3 separate regions of the Homo sapiens genome follow, and regions 2 and 3 are each linked to region 1. The links are contacts of gene promoters, found by promoter capture Hi-C in blood cells and fetal thymus (Javierre and others, 2016). All regions are on one chromosome and are shown on one strand. The core of a region is centred on a gene start or on the middle of the fragment in contact, and the rest is flanking DNA. Distances in the headings are between cores, read along the strand shown. Region 1 holds the start of CHAC1 (ChaC glutathione specific gamma-glutamylcyclotransferase 1). Region 2 overlaps NUSAP1 (nucleolar and spindle associated protein 1). Region 3 overlaps CHP1 (calcineurin like EF-hand protein 1).

Region 1 (5,131 bases), core at 871-3,370:
ACTTTGGGAGGCCAAGGTGGGCGGATCACAAAATCAGGAGTTTGAGATCAGCCTGGCCAATATGGCGAAACCTCGTGTCTACTAAAAATACAAAAATTATCCAGGCGTGGTGGCAGGTGCCTGTAGTCCCAGCTACTCGGGAGGCTCAGGCAGGAGAATCGCTTGAACCTGGGAGGCGGAGGTTGCAGTGAGCCGAGATTGTGCCACTGCACTCCAGCCTGGGCAACAGAGAGAGACTCCACCTCAAAAAAAAAAAAAAAAAAAAAAAAAAAAAAAAAAAGTAACAATGCATTGAAAATCTTCAGGCATATGGCTTTTCCCGTATTTTGAATAATTTCCTGAAGGAGTATTGGGTCAAAGGGCAGGGATATTTTGTGATTCTTGACTTGTATCACCAAGCTGCTTTCTCAAAGGGTTGTTTGTGCCAATTCAGATACTTCAGCAATATGTGGATACCAGTTTCCCACTTCCCGGACTACAACCCACAGCTGGTGAGTGGAAAAGAGGACATTCTTCTAAGAAGCTACCAACAAAGGAGGTGCTCATATGAACGAAAGGGGACAGGATAGAAGAGAAGAGGGAGACTGAATGTGGGAAATGGAGAGAAAGCGAAAAAGAAAGGAATAACCAGAAAGGACCATTTGCTGGTAATTTTTTTTTTTTCCTGATTGGAAAAGTAATTCATGCTCCCTGTAAAAATCCAGACTTTTTCATTACTGTTTAAGTTTGATACTGAAAGTCCTCCTCTGGTGCCAGCCTCTGCTAACTGTTTAGGTATATTCTTCCAGATTATTTATTACACGAATACTTTTTGTTTTTAAAGAAATAGCTTTGTACTATACACACTGTTGTGCAAGTTTCCCACTTATATCTGCGACACCTTCGGAATGAATATGTGAAGTGTGAAGATCACGTTTAGTTTAAATATTGAATTAGAATCGAATGAGAAGCCATGTTGCACATTGCCCCTGCCAGCCATCTCCTGGCCAGTTTAGAGAGAAGGCCTTCAGCTGCCTCTGTTTCCCTTTTACAGTCAGTGACATCCCCTGAGGGCAGTCCCTTGCTGCGTATTGGGTCAACCCCCGGCGGCCTGTGGACTCGGCTGGGAGGCCAGAAGCCGAGGGAGAAGACCAGTAGCTGGCCATAGTCTTGTGGGGGCCTCACTGGGCCCTCCTTGCCCGCTGCTCCCGGAACCTTGTGCCTATGGATTAATCATTGCTGCAAAATCTCACGTCCAGGAAGAATTAAACCCATCGCCTTGGGGGCAAGACTAGCCTGGCTTTTGCATCTTTATAGCCTTTCTCCGCAGGTGCAGCCACCACCTCCAAAGTGACTGCCGGTCGGTCCAAGCGCTCTAACAGGCTCTTCCCCGAGCCTACCTGGGCTCGAGGGGTCCCACACCTGGTCCGGGGCGTAGCCCATGTGAGGCCTGCAAGCTCCGGGCGCCTGGCCTACCTAACTCAGCCCCGCAGTCTCTGCAGAACCCCCTGCAGCCCCGTGGCCCAGTTTCTCCATTTGCTCACAATGGCCAACGGCGTGAGGCACTTGAGCGGAATGCGGACGGTGCCTCCGACAGCTTTCCCGCAGTGCATGATCTCAGGAGGGGCCCCAGAGACGGAAGTTTACGACGCCCAGAGCGCTCCTTCTGGACGTGCCCTGGACTCGACTTGGGACTGAGTCTGTGCCGCCTAGGCTGGCAGGGACTCGGCCAGATGCACTAGCGGCAAGGCTGGGCTGACACCGCCTGGGACTCGCTCGCCGTACCTCCAAGGGGCCCAGGTCATGAGGGGGCGGCTGGGGAGACGCCCGCCCGGTGCCCGCCCTGGGCCCGGCGGGTGCCCCCTGCCCGCCGCCTGACGCAATCCGAGGCGCCCTTGCTGCATGCCGGCGCTGGAGAAACCTCCCCTGCCGTTGCATCACTCCTGCCAGGTTTGCCACAGAGGTGGAGCTGAACCAATCAGCGGGCGCGCTGGGCCCGCGGCGCGGTTAAGTGAGAAGCAGAATCCGAAGTTGATTGGCCAAAAGGGGATTTGCCCCACCCCAATCACCGCGGCAGCTGGCCGCGGTGGGCGTGGTCTCCCGGCAAGAAGGTTTAAAGGGCGCCTCCATGGGGGGCGCTCAGCTGGAGCTACCGAGCGGTGCCAGGCCAGGTGTGTGCGTCCGTCGGTCTTTCCGTGCCCACGCCGGAGACCAGCCCCGGAGGCCGCCTGGGCCTATCCCTGTGCCAGGCACCATGAAGCAGGAGTCTGCAGCCCCGAACACCCCGCCCACCTCGCAGTCCCCTACGCCGTCCGCTCAGTTCCCCCGAAACGACGGCGACCCTCAAGCGCTGTGGATTTTCGGGTACGGCTCCCTGGTGTGGAGGCCCGACTTCGCCTACAGCGACAGCCGTGTGGGCTTCGTGCGCGGCTACAGCCGCCGTTTCTGGCAGGGAGACACCTTCCATCGGGGCAGCGACAAGATGGTGAGCATCCAACCGTGCCCAGGGGAGTGAGGGGGTTGGGGGCGGGATACTGGGCGCCAGTGCCCTGGAATGTCCGGGGCTCTCTGGGCCAATAGAAAGAAATGTGTAAACCTGTGTCTGGGGTTTGTGGCTCATTTAAATGTATGTGCCCAGTGCATCACTGTGATGGCTGGAGTCTGTGAACCTGTGGATCCCTGTGTTGATCACCAACTGGGACCACTGACATGTCAGTGTTTCTGGACGTTTCTCCTACATCCGTGCATCGCTCCCCCACCTTCCCCTGCATGAATGGGACTCAGCATGCAGAGTGGGGCACTTGGAGGCCCGGGTCAGCGGGATTGATAAAGGTTTCCTTGCTGATGGCAGAGCTGATTTCTAACTTGTCTATTTCAAAATATTTCTTCCCTCCCTAGCCTGGCCGTGTGGTGACGCTCCTTGAAGATCATGAGGTAAGTGCCCGAATCATGAAGGGGAACCCTGGCCCAGTGTGAAGGGGGACCAGCAGAGAGAGCTCATAGGCTCTTGGCTGCAGGCTAGCTCTGTCTGATGCTTCTCTGGCAGAGTAGAAACGTGTTCTAGCTCAGTGCTTCTCACCAAATCACATGAGGATCTTGTTAGAATGCAGATTTTAGTTCAGTAGCATGAGAATGGGTCCTGAGACACAGCATTCCTAACTAGCTTACAGGTGATGCCACCACATCCTGGACCACACTTTGAGGAGGAATCCTGTCTTCCCTGGTACTAGACCACTTTGTCAACTGTTTTTTTTTTTTGTTGTTGTTGTTGTTGTTTTGTTTGTTTGTTTTTGAGACAGAGTCTTGCTCTGTTGCCCAGGCTGGAGTGCAGTGATGCAATCTTGGCTCACTGCAACATCTGCCTTCCAGATTCAAGCGATTCTCCCACCTCAGCCTCCCGAGTAGCTGGGATTACAGGCATGCGCTACCACACTCAGCTAATTTTTGTATTTTTAGTAGAGACGGAGTTTCACCATATTGGCCAGGCTGGTCTGGAACTCCTGATCTCAAGTGATCTGCCCACCCTCAGCCTCCCAAAATGCTGGGATTACAGGCATGAGCTACTGCACCTGGCCTCAACTATGCCTTTTTTTTTTTTTTTAAGACGGAGTCTTACCCTTGTCACCCAGGCTGAAGTCACTGCAACCTCCACCTCCTGGGTTCAAACGATTCTACTGCCTCACCCTCCCGAGTAGCTGGGTTACAGGCGTACGCCACCATGCCTGGCTAATTTTTGTATTTTTAGTAGAGATGGGGTTTCACCATTTTGGCCAGGCCGGTCTCGAACACCTGACCTGAAGTGATCCACCTGCCTTGGCCTCTCAAAGTGTTGGGATTACAAGCATGAGCCACCACGCCTGGCCTTTCAACTGTTCTTAACAAAGAGAGTACAAGGGCTTGAGGTACTGCCACCAGATGGCTCATCAGCCGACCACAGCCTCCCTTATAGAGCACAGTCCTGGGTGGGGGTGGCATGTTAGGATAGGAGAGGGAGCAGCAAGGAGCTGTCATGACTGACCCCGGGTGTCCCTATTTCTTCCCAGGGCTGCACTTGGGGCGTGGCATACCAAGTGCAAGGGGAGCAGGTAAGCAAGGCCCTGAAGTACCTGAATGTGCGAGAGGCAGTGCTTGGTGGCTACGATACCAAGGAGGTCACCTTCTATCCCCAAGATGCTCCTGACCAACCACTGAAGGCATTGGCCTATGTGGCCACCCCACAGAACCCTGGTTACCTGGGCCCTGCGCCTGAAGAGGCCATTGCCACGCAGATCCTGGCCTGCCGGGGCTTCTCCGGCCACAACCTTGAATACTTGCTGCGTCTGGCAGACTTCATGCAGCTCTGTGGGCCTCAGGCGCAGGACGAGCACCTGGCAGCCATCGTGGACGCTGTGGGCACCATGTTGCCCTGCTTCTGCCCCACCGAGCAGGCTCTGGCGCTGGTGTGAGGGGCTGAGCCCCTGCGGGGAGTGCTCATGTGGACATCAGGGCCAGACACCCACTCCAGTGCACAAGACAGACTTGCGACCGCTTGAGCCCACTGAGCAGATATGGTGGGTGGCTGGAGGCTTCTCTTTCTCAGTCCCTGCCTGTCTGCCAGCCTGCAGCTCTCCTGCTTGACACTGACTTACTACTTGAAACTTTATTTATTGCACCATGTTGGTGTGGTGGGCAGGTGGAGGGCCTGCCCTGGACACAGGGGCCCTGCTGAGCAGTGGCCCCATCCTGGAACTTGACCAGATTCCCCCCAGTGCTGCTGCTAACCCCACACCACCCAGGCCTCCACCTCCCCAGGGAGTCTCCAAGAGCCTCGATCCTCTGCTCACTCAGCCCAGCCATCCATAGCCCTGGGAATTCCACCTGCCAAGGATCCCAGCAGGCTGGATGAGGGATAGTAGGGCATGAGGAGAAGGAGCCCTGTAAGGACTGAGGCCCCGGCCAGCCCTTCTCCTCCACCAGTTCCCCAGAGCAGAGCTGGAGCTGATGCCTGGACACAGCTGCTGAGCCTGGCCTGGGCCTCTTACCCACTTGGTTGTTTTCTTGTCCCTCTGTCTGTCTGTCTATCTACTTGTCTGTCTGGGCCACTCCTGCCTGTGTGTTGGTCTATTCCTGGGAAGCTCATCACTACAGGCCCTGGCAACCTTCCCAGTCTGTC
Region 2 (5,131 bases), core at 305-2,804, 410 kb after region 1:
GCAGAGGTTGCAGTGAGCCAAGATCATGCCATTGCACTGTAGCCTGGGCAATAGAGCAAGACTCCGTCTCAAAATAAATAAATAAATAACATAAAAACAAGAAGAATATGAGACAGAGACCATACCATATGTGGCCATAAAGCCTAAAATACTTTTTTTTTTTGAGACGAAGTTTTGCTCTTGTTGCCCAGGCTGGAGTGCAATGGCGCAATCTAGGCTCACTGCAACCTCCACCTCCCGGGTTCAAGCGATTCTCCTGCCTCAGTGTCCCGAGTAGCTGGGATTACAGGCGTGCGCCACCACACCTGGCTAATTTTTGTATTTTTAGTAGAGATGGGGTTTCTCCATGTTGGTCAGGCTGGTCTCGAACTCCTGACCTCAGGTGATCTGACCGCTTTGGCTTCCCAAAGTGCTGAGATTACAGGTGTTGAGCCACCATGACCAGCCAAGTCTTAAATACTTTTATCTAGCCCTTTATAGAATAAATTTGTCAGTCCTTGACATACAGCATTATAAAATATCAAATTCATTATTAAATAAAGACCACTTGTGACTAATTGGTAGGGGAGAAGATAAATCTTCTACTCTAATCCTCTGGATTAAACCAAGATGTCAATTTAGTGAAATTTGTCAGTGGGGAGATGGTGAATGTTTGATAGTTTATAAGATGAATGTGCTTTGCCCCTGAGTTTCCAAAAACTAAGTATTTTGAAATTAATGTTTTAGCAAAAATTATATTGAAGTTGAATGTCAGGGATGCAAAGAAGAGAATAAGTGTTAACAGAAAAACACAGAGAAGATAAATAAATGGATTTTGTTTTGTTATTAATTTTTATATTGGAACATTCTAGACTTTAAGAAGCTTCATGAAGCTCATTTTAAGGAAATGGAGTCCATTGATCAATATATTGAGAGAAAAAAGAAACATTTTGAAGAACACAATTCCATGAATGAACTGAAGGTATGTAGATAAAATTATGTTCTTAATGGAACTAAACTGTTTGATTATAATTTTGAAACTATATAACACCGTGGTTACAACAACTGGCTGTCACTCTACCAGTAGATTTGTTTGAATTTAATATATCTTTATCTAAAACTTGCTTTCCCCTACCCTGAGAATTTTCAAAGTCCTCTAGATAAAACAGTGAATCCATGGCCAAGCGCAGTGGCTCATGCCTGTAATCCCCGCACTTTGGGAGGCCAAGGCAAGTGGATTACCTCAGGTCAGGAGTTCAAGGCCAGCCTGGGCAACATGGTGAAACCCTGTCTCTACAAAAAATACAGAAAATTAGTAGGGGGTGGCACATGGCTGTAATCCCATCTACTCAGGAGGCTGAGGCAGGAGAATCACTTGAACCAGGAGGCCAACATTGCAGTGAGCTGAGATCGCGCCACTGCACTCCAGCCTGGGTGACAGAGTGAGACTCCGTCTCAAAAAAAAAGAAAACAGTGAATCCTGACTATGAGAAACTATTTCCAAAATGGCAATGTCATTCTACTTTCCATATTCAGATGTTTTGCCTATTACTTTCATTGATGATGAACCAACTTATGGCTGAAGCCATCTTCTTTCCCTCGTCCCTTATGTAAAGGAAAATGGGTGATTAATAGTGGCAAACCTGAAGGGTTCCTGTGGTAACAGCTCCCTCGAGGGCTTTCAGTCCAGGTTCCACAGGACTCAAAGCCTCCTCAAGTAAGAGAAGGTGATAAAGTCAACTCTGAGGCTGAGTTAGCAAAGTAGTGAGTAACATTCTAGCAAGTTGATGTTATTGGTATCTGGTGTTAAGGCAGTGCCGAATGGAGGGCAGGAAACACATTTTTAAATATTTATGGATTTATGTATTTTTCTCATAAAGACAGGGTCTCCCTATGATTCCCAGGCTCTCCTTGAACGCCTAGGCTCAAGTGATCCTCCCACCTCAGCCTCCCAAAGTGCTGGGATTACAGGTGTGAGCCACCAGATTATATTTATTTCTATTCGCTGTATTTAATTCTTAACCCCATGTTTATTTTACATAACTTCCCTATTTCTCAAAAAGAATTTAAGGCCTATTCTCAAAATAATGTAAGTTTATGGTATTAAATATAAAATAGTATAGTCAATTTAAAAGCGGCAGAAAATTAGCACTGTTAGTAGGTACAGTATTTACTACCATCAGTCACTCAGCTGAGTTTAAGTTTTCTGGCAGCTAGGGCCAAGAGGAAAACTCACTGGGTGATAAATTGTAAATAATTTAAGTACTTAAGCTTCTTGGTGAGAAGCTTAATTGAAATAATAAACATTCATTTTAACGATGTAAAACCACTGTTACAACCATTTTTTTTCTTTTCTTTTCTTTTTTTTTTTTGAGACAGAGTTTCGCTCTTGTTGCCCAGACTGGAGGGCAATGGTACAGTCTCAGCTCACTGCAACCTCTGCCTCCCTGATTCAAGTGATTTTCCTGCCTTTAGCCTCCCCAGTAGCTGAGATTACAGGCGCCCACCACCACACCCAGCTAATTTTTTTATTTTTAGTAGAGACGGGTTTTCACCATGTTGGCCAGGCTGGTCTTGAACTCCTGACCTCAGGTGATCAACCCACCTCCCAAAGTGCTGGTATTACATGCATGAGCCATTGCTCCCATCCTCACTGTTACCACATTTGAAGGCACTGTTTGTCAAACTTTTTTTTTTTTTGAGACTCAGTCTCACTCTGTCACCCAGGCTGGAGTGCAATGGTGCGATCTTGCCTCACTGGAACCTCTGCTTCCCGGATGCAGCAGATTATTTTGCCTCAGCCTCCCAAGTAGTTGGGATTACAGGTGCCCACCACCACACCCAGCTAATATTTGTATTTGTAATTTTATTTATTTTTTTTAGATGGAGTCACATTGTGTTGCCCAGGCTGGAGTGCAGTGACACAATATTGGCTCATTGCAACCTCCACCTCCTGGATTCAAGTGATTCTCCCACCTCAGCCTCCCAAGTACCTGGGATTACAGGCAACCACCACCACACCCGGCTAATTTTTGTTTGTTTGTTTGTTTGTTTGTTTTGACACAGTTTCACTCTTCTTGCCCAGACTGGAGTGCAATGGCGTGATCTTGGCTCACCACAACTTCCACCTCCCAGGTTCAAGCAATTCTCCTGCCTCAGCCTCCTGAGTAGCTGGGATTATAGGTGCCTGCCACCACGCCTGGCTAATTTTTTGTATTTTTAGTAGAGACGGGGTTTCACTATGTTGGCCAGGCTAGTCTTGAACTCCTGACCTTGTGATCCACCTGCCTCAGCCTCCCAAAGTGCTGGGATCACAGGCATAAGCCACGGCGCCCAGCCCCTGCTAATTTTTATATTTTCAGTAAAGATGGGGTTTCACCATGTTGGCCAGGCTGGTCTCGATCTCCTGACTTCAGGTGATCCACCCACCTCAGCCTCCCAAAGTGCTGGGATTACAGGCGTGAGCCACCACTCCTGTCCTCACTGTTACCACATTTGAAGGCACTGTTTATCCATCTTTTTTTTTTTTTTTTTTTTGCGATGAGTCTCACTGTGTCACTCAGGCTGGAGTGCAGTGGTGCGATCTTGGCTCACTGCAACCTGCACCTCCCGGGTTCGACAGATCTTGCCAGCATGGCAAAACCCTGTCTCTACTAAAAATACAAAAATTACCTGGCCATGGTGGTGGGTGCCTGTACTCCCAGCTACTCAGGAAGCTGAGACAGGAGAATCGCTTGAACCCAGGAGGTGGAGGTTGCAGTGCATGGAGGTCACACCACTGCACTCCAGCCTGGGCAACAGACCAAGACTCCATCTCAAAAAACAAAAAAAATAGGCCAGGGCGTGGTGGCTCACACCTGTAATCCCAGTACTTTGGGAAGCTGAGGCAGGCGGATCACCTGAGGTCAGGGGTTTGAGACCAGCCTGACCAACATGGAGAAACCCCATCTTTACTAAAAATACAAAATTATCTTGGCATGGTGGCGCATGTCTGTAATCCCAGCTACTCGGGAGGCTGAGGCAGGAGAATTGCTTGAACCCGGGAGGCAGAGGTTGCGGTGAGCCGAGACCATGCCATTGCACTCCAGCCTGGGCAACAAGAGTGAAACTCCATCTCAAAAAAAAAATAATAATAATTTAAGTTAATTTAAAAAAATGTTTCAGCCAGACACAGTGGCTCACACCTGTCAATCCACAACTTTGGGAGGGTTAGGCCGAAGGATCACTTGAGCCCCAGTGTTGAAGACCAACCTGGGCAATACAGTGAGACTCCATCTCTAAAGAAAAAAAAAGAGTCAAGCTGCTGCTTTCTATATTTTGTAATATGGATGACATAATTTTCTAAGTAAAAGTTAAGGACAGAGCAAGAACGACTGTCTCAACCATAAACGTTGAGTATTGCTCTAGAAAATGTGTTGAATAAACGAATAGTTTATCTTACTTTTTAGTATAACTCCAGCCTGGTAGACCCATCTGAATGAGTTTAGTTCTAAAATAACACTGTTCACCCTGAATGTTTAAGGAACTGGCCTATCAGATATATAACTTGGTATGATCTCTTTGGAGACTAGAGAATTAAAAAAAAAAATTACAATAACTTCACCATACCTGAGATGAAGTTGCTCCTGGCACATTTGGGGCTTGGTCATTTAGATGGTGATGGACAGTAATAAGCAGATATCCTAAAGAGATCATTCTGGCCATGACAGCCTCTCTTTGACTTTTATGATAACAAAAGACAGACTTGTTTGATCTAGTTGTCAAATGGCCCTCTAAAAAGATCAGAAAACTATCTGGGTGTGGTGGCTCATGCCTATTATCCCACCTACTTGGGAGGCTGAGGTGGGAGGGTTGCTTGAGCCCAGGAGTCAAAGACCAGGCTGGGCAACATAGAACAACCCCATCTCAAATAAACAAATACATATATACCTACATTTAATTAATTTATTTTAATTAATTTATCTATTTATTTATAATAAAAAGATTGGAAAACTTGTATTCCAAGGTACCTTATATAGTTATAAATCTCTATATTTTATAATTGGCTATTTTTATGCAGATTTGCTTTTTCTCAATTATTATTCTTATTTATCTATATTAATGGTATATATTATCTGTTTTAAGTACTTTTCTATTGTTTATCTTTTTTTTT
Region 3 (5,131 bases), core at 1,502-4,001, 300 kb after region 1:
TGCTCCTTATGAGAATCTAATGCCTGCTGATCTGAGGTTGAACAGTGTCATCCTGAAACTATCCTGTCTACCCCCAGGAGAAAAATTATTTTCCATAAAACTGGTCCCTGGTCCCAAAAAGGCTGGGGATCGCTGCCAGCTGCCTTTTTTTTTTTTTTTTTAATTAGAGACAGGGTTTCCCTATGTTGCCCAGGCTGGTCTCGGACTCCTGGGTTGGGATTACAGGCACATGCCACTATGCCTGGCTTATTTTGTATTTTTAATAGAGACAGGGTTTCTCCATATTGGTCAGGCTGGTCTCAAACTCCTGACCTCAGGCGATCTGCCCACCTTGGCCTCCCAAAGTGCTGGGATTATAGGCGTCAACCACCACGCCTGGCCATCTTATCCATTTAATTTAAAAATACTGATTAAGTGCTTTAGCTAATGGAAATTTTTGTCATTTCAGTGTTAATAAATATGTTGTACCATATGCTTAACCTCTCATACTACTTAAAATGGAAAGCTGTATTTTCTTTTCTTTTTTTTTTTTGAGACAGAGTCTCGCTCTGTTGCCCAGGCTGGAGTGGTACAATCTTGGCTGACTGCAACCTCCGCCTCCCGGGTTCAAGCAGTTCTCTGCCTCAGCCTCCCAAGTAGCTGGGATTACAGGCACCCGCCACCACGCCCGTCTGATTTTTGTATTTTTAGTAGAGACGGGGTTTTACCATCTTGGCCAGGCTCGTGTCTAACTCCTGACCTCATGATCCACCCACCTCGGCCTCCCAAAGTGCTGGAATTACAGGAGTGAGCCACCACGCCCGGCCTGGAAAGCTGTGTTTTCTAATTGAATGTGTGTTCCAGTGGGTATGTCCTATTAACAGATTTTAATCTCCTCATTATGTACAAGTCAACTAAAGCAACAACCTGTGGGTGCTTGAGATAGAAGTTACCTGTGAGGCTGAATCTCTCTGTAAGAGAAGGGACTTGCACAGTGAAGGTGAGCAGTATAGAGGGATGGCATGTCTGGTTACTAACAGTCTAAAAACCCTGGTTTTTCTAAGCATCCCTGTGCCCTTGAATGTTTGGAAAACCACTCCCCATTGGAAATTTCTTGGCCACAAAGAATGCCATCGTACATGGCTCTGTTCTCAGAATTGACTACTACCAGTGATACTGTCTTTTTCTAAAAAAATCTTCAAGGAAGGTTTTCCTAGGTATACCATGAGGCAGAACATAATGTTGGTATGCTTTTCAGTGAATCCACACAAATCTGTATTTCACATGGTTTTTTTTTTTTTTTTTTTTTTTTTTTTTTGAGATGGAGTCTCACTCTGTCACCAGGCTGGAGTGCAGTGGCGCAATCTTGGCTCACTGCAACCTCCACCTCCCAGGTTCAAGTGATTCTCCTTTCTCAGCCTCCAGAGTAGCTGGGACTACAGGCTCGCGCCACCATGCCCAGCTAATTTTTGTGTTTTTAGTAGAGACGGGGTTTCACCATGTTGGCCAGGATGGTCTTGATCTCTTGACCTCGTGATCCACCTGCCTCAGCCTCCCAAAGTGCTGGGATTACAGGCGTGAGCCACTGTGCCCGGCCTTCGGATGGATCTTATGCTTGTGGTGTTTAGGCCACTTTGGAGTATTTATTTTTTTCTATTAGGTTTATGTTGATGGGTAAATTTGAGAATCTAAGTTTTAGAGAAACTGCCCAGATCTACATTCTACTATAAAGCAACCAGTAATAATAACTTGTTCGTATATTATTTATTTAACAGTTGACAAAGTATTTATTTATTTATTTATTTATTTATTTATTTATTTATTTATTTATTTTGAGACGGAGTCTTGCTCTGTCACCAGGCTGGAGTGCAGTGGCGCAATCTTGGCTCACTGCAACCTCCACCTCCCAGGTTCATGCCATTCTCCTGCCTCAGTCTCCCGAGTAGCTGGGACTACAGGTGCCCGTCACCACGCCTAGCTAATTTTTTGTTTTTTTAGTAGAGACGGGGTTTCACCGTGTTAGCCAGGTTGGTCTTCATCTCTTGACCTCATGATCCTCCCGCCTCGGCCTCCCAAAGTGCTGGGATTACAGGTGTGAGCCACTGCGCCCGGCTGACAAATTATTTTTTATACTCTTTCTGTTTGTTTTGTTTTTTCTGTTTTGAAACAGGGTCTCACTCTGTCACCCAGGCTCGAGGGCAGTGATGTTACCATGGCTCCTTGCAGCCTTGACCTTCTAGGCTCAAACAATCCTCCCGCTTCAGCTTCCCAAGTAGCTGGGACTACAGGCACGTGCCACCATGCCTGGCTAATTTTTTTTTTTTTTTTAAACTTTTTAGAGATGTGGTCTTGCTCTGTTGCCCAGGCTGGTCTCGAACTCCTAGCCTGAAGCAGTTCTTCCACCTTGGCCTCCAAAAGTGCTGGGATTATAGGCTGAGCTGCCATACCCAGCCCTCTTTCTTTTTAACTTTAATACTTTTAGCAATACTGTCCTTGATCTGGGTGACTGGAACTACATTATATATACAATCTAAATTCTAAGAGTAGAGTTAGAAAGTATCAAAGGACAGGTCCATCGGAAGGCCAAGTGTACACCTCCTTATTGAGACTGAAGTTCAGGCTAGGTTGTGCATCACCACTTGATACTAGACTTGGTATTTAAACTGCCTTTTCTCAGCTAAAGTTTCTTAAGCTTGTTAGACATTAAACTGAAGTATGTAGCCATGCAATTCAAATCAGCCTTAGTCTTAATTTAAAAGTGAGTAGTTATTGTTTCTTGACCTCTGTCAGACAGGAGGAGCTACATTTTGATGATAGTGTAGACTTTGTATTACAGAACAAATTATGTAATAAAAGCTTAGTACATGTTTGTTGAATTAAATAATCAGGACCTCGGTAATTTTCTCTTTCATCATCTTAAGCAATCCAGTTATCTTATGAATGACTTCTTCTGGTTCATGCATTGATATAAAATTATTACACTAAATGGTCAAGAAGGACTAGAATCCAGGATGATTGTTCCAGAGCTTTGTGTTCAGTCCACTAGGTCAGTTTCTACCTGTGTCACCAAATGTGGTGGAGAAGAGCTTGCTGAGTTAATTAAGCACCACGTAAACGTTAAACCACAAGAGGAAAAGAGCGTGAAGTCTCCTGGGTACAGTAGGAGTATTTTATTATCTTCCGTCTTTGCTAGCATATATTACAAAGAGGGTGGAGGTATACATTTTATCTGTCTGTAAGTAAACTTCTTGAAGGCAGGAGTAAAATCTAGTTTATAATCTTTTTTTTAACTTTTTATCTGGAAATAATTTTAAACTTGAAGTTACAAGAACAATACAAGATAACTTTTATTCTGATACCCAGATTCACCAATTGTTAACATTTTGTCACATACTTCACTGTTTATTTCCTATAGAAAGGACATTCTCAGATCAAAATCAAGAAAGTTGCATTTTGAAACAGTACCATTATGTAATATTCCATATTTTATATGGTCCATGCTTCATTTTCACATATTATCCAATAATGTCCTTATAGCAGTTTTTTTCCTAGTCCGGGATCATGTGTTGGGTTTTGTTGTGTGTCTCTTTAGCCCCCCCTTGATCTGGAACAATCCTCTGCTTTTCTTTGTCCTCCATGACATTGATATTTTTGAAGACTGCAGCACAGATAAGTTGTAGACAGCTTTGTATTCTTGGCCCAGGAACCAACAAAAGAAAGTTTTTAAAAAATACTTATTGAAAAATTGGGGGACTGGGTGCGGTGGCTCACGCCTGTAATCCCAGGACTTTGGGAGGCTGAGGTGGGTGGATCACCTGAGGTCAGGAGTTCAAGACCAGCCTGGCCAATGTGGTAAAACCCCACCTCTACTAAAAATACAAAAATTGGCCGGGCATGGTAGCACCCGCTTGTAATGCTAGCTACTTGGGAGACTGAAGCAGTAGAATCGCTTGAACCCGGGAGGAGGAGGTTGCAGTGAACCCAGAGATCAAGCCACTACACTCCAGCCTGGGAGCGAAACTCCATCTCAAAAAAATAAAAATAAAGAATTTGGGGGAGAGTAACTTTCATTCAAAAGGTTCAATATTAGGGCTGGGCACCGTGGCTCACTCCTGTAATCCCACCCAGCACTTTGGGAGGCCGAGGCCGGCAGATCACCTGAGGTCAGGAGTTCAAGACCAGCCTGGCCAACATGGTGAAACTCCGTCTCTACTAAATGTACAAAAAACTAGCCAGGCGTGGTGGAGAGTGCCTGTAATCCCAGCTACTTGGGAGGCTGAGGCAGGAGAATCGCTTGAACCTGGGAAGTGGAGGTGGCAGTGAGCCAAGACCATGCCATTGCATTCCAGCCTGGGTGACTGAGCAAGACTCTGTCTCAAAAAAAAGTTCAATATAGGAAAGAAATATGGTTTTTAGAAAAAGAACACATACTTTGACTTACAGACTTAGATTTAAATCACAGTTCTGCTACTTAGGAGTAGTGTGGCTTTGGGCAAGTTACTTTATCTTCCTGACTCTCAATTTCCTCAGCTCTAAAAGGGTATACATAAAACATTGGCGTGAAGAAATGAGAATAATGTATGTAAACAGAGCAGCACATGATATATATGTGATGAATGGTAACTGACAATATTCGCTTTGGTATAACCTCGCCTAAGTCATGTGAGGATGACTGCTCTTGTCATGTTTGAGGGTTAAATACTTCTGTAGCCCTAGTCCACAGAACATGGAAATGGAGAAAAAGCCAGAGTCAGAACAAGGAAATCAATTGGTTGTCACATTATTTCCTTGCATGTAAATAGCACCTAAGAATTCCTTGCATTTTGTAAGTGCCTAAAAATCTTAACAAGGATATGGAGACCCCTCTAAGTGTTTGTCCCCATATTCAAGTTCTGCAGTATTTGATACTTTCCATTTGCTGTTCACTTTCCAAACTTAATAACTAGGTACGCAATGCTAATGTTCAAGAAATCATTTACTAAGGGACAGCTTAGTATTTGTCCATCAGTTGGCTTATTGACGTAACCTGTGTGCTAAATTCACTGGAATGTGGCGTAATCAAATCTGGCTCCTTCCACTTCTGAGTTGGTGCAAGAAACACTTGGCAGCTATTAAAGTGCTATTCTTTGCAGTTATTTGGTATAATTTGCCA

The links. Contacts are between HindIII fragments. The CHiCAGO score rates a contact against its expected background, and 5 or more counts as called.
Region 2: a fragment that was not itself captured here is called in contact with the fragment with the promoter of CHAC1 in region 1 in 1 of 17 cell types (endothelial precursors); the score reaches 5.1 in endothelial precursors.
Region 3: a fragment that was not itself captured here is called in contact with the fragment with the promoter of CHAC1 in region 1 in 3 of 17 cell types (endothelial precursors, M1 macrophages and megakaryocytes); the score reaches 6.4 in endothelial precursors.

Annotation. Positions count from the first base shown.
Region 1 is chr15:40,951,351-40,956,481 of GRCh38, forward strand. CHAC1 (ChaC glutathione specific gamma-glutamylcyclotransferase 1) reads left to right here and starts at 2,121. Exons shown (of 3, transcript NM_024111.6): 1 at 2,121-2,464; 2 at 2,878-2,913; 3 at 4,023-5,131. The coding sequence starts at 2,234. The coding sequence ends at 4,424. RefSeq lists enhancers at 1,330-1,923, 4,349-4,899 and a silencer at 1,595-1,854. The HindIII fragment of the contact is 14,830 bases long and covers 1-5,131 here.
Region 2 is chr15:41,357,298-41,362,428 of GRCh38, forward strand. NUSAP1 (nucleolar and spindle associated protein 1) reads left to right here. Exons shown (of 11, transcript NM_016359.5): 6 at 852-961. Among named protein-coding and RNA genes, the nearest start is that of NUSAP1, 27 kb to the left of the region's middle. The HindIII fragment of the contact is 1,388 bases long and covers 861-2,248 here.
Region 3 is chr15:41,251,661-41,256,791 of GRCh38, forward strand. All of the region lies in intron 2 of CHP1 (calcineurin like EF-hand protein 1), which reads left to right. Among named protein-coding and RNA genes, the nearest start is that of CHP1, 23 kb to the left of the region's middle. The HindIII fragment of the contact is 164 bases long and covers 2,670-2,833 here.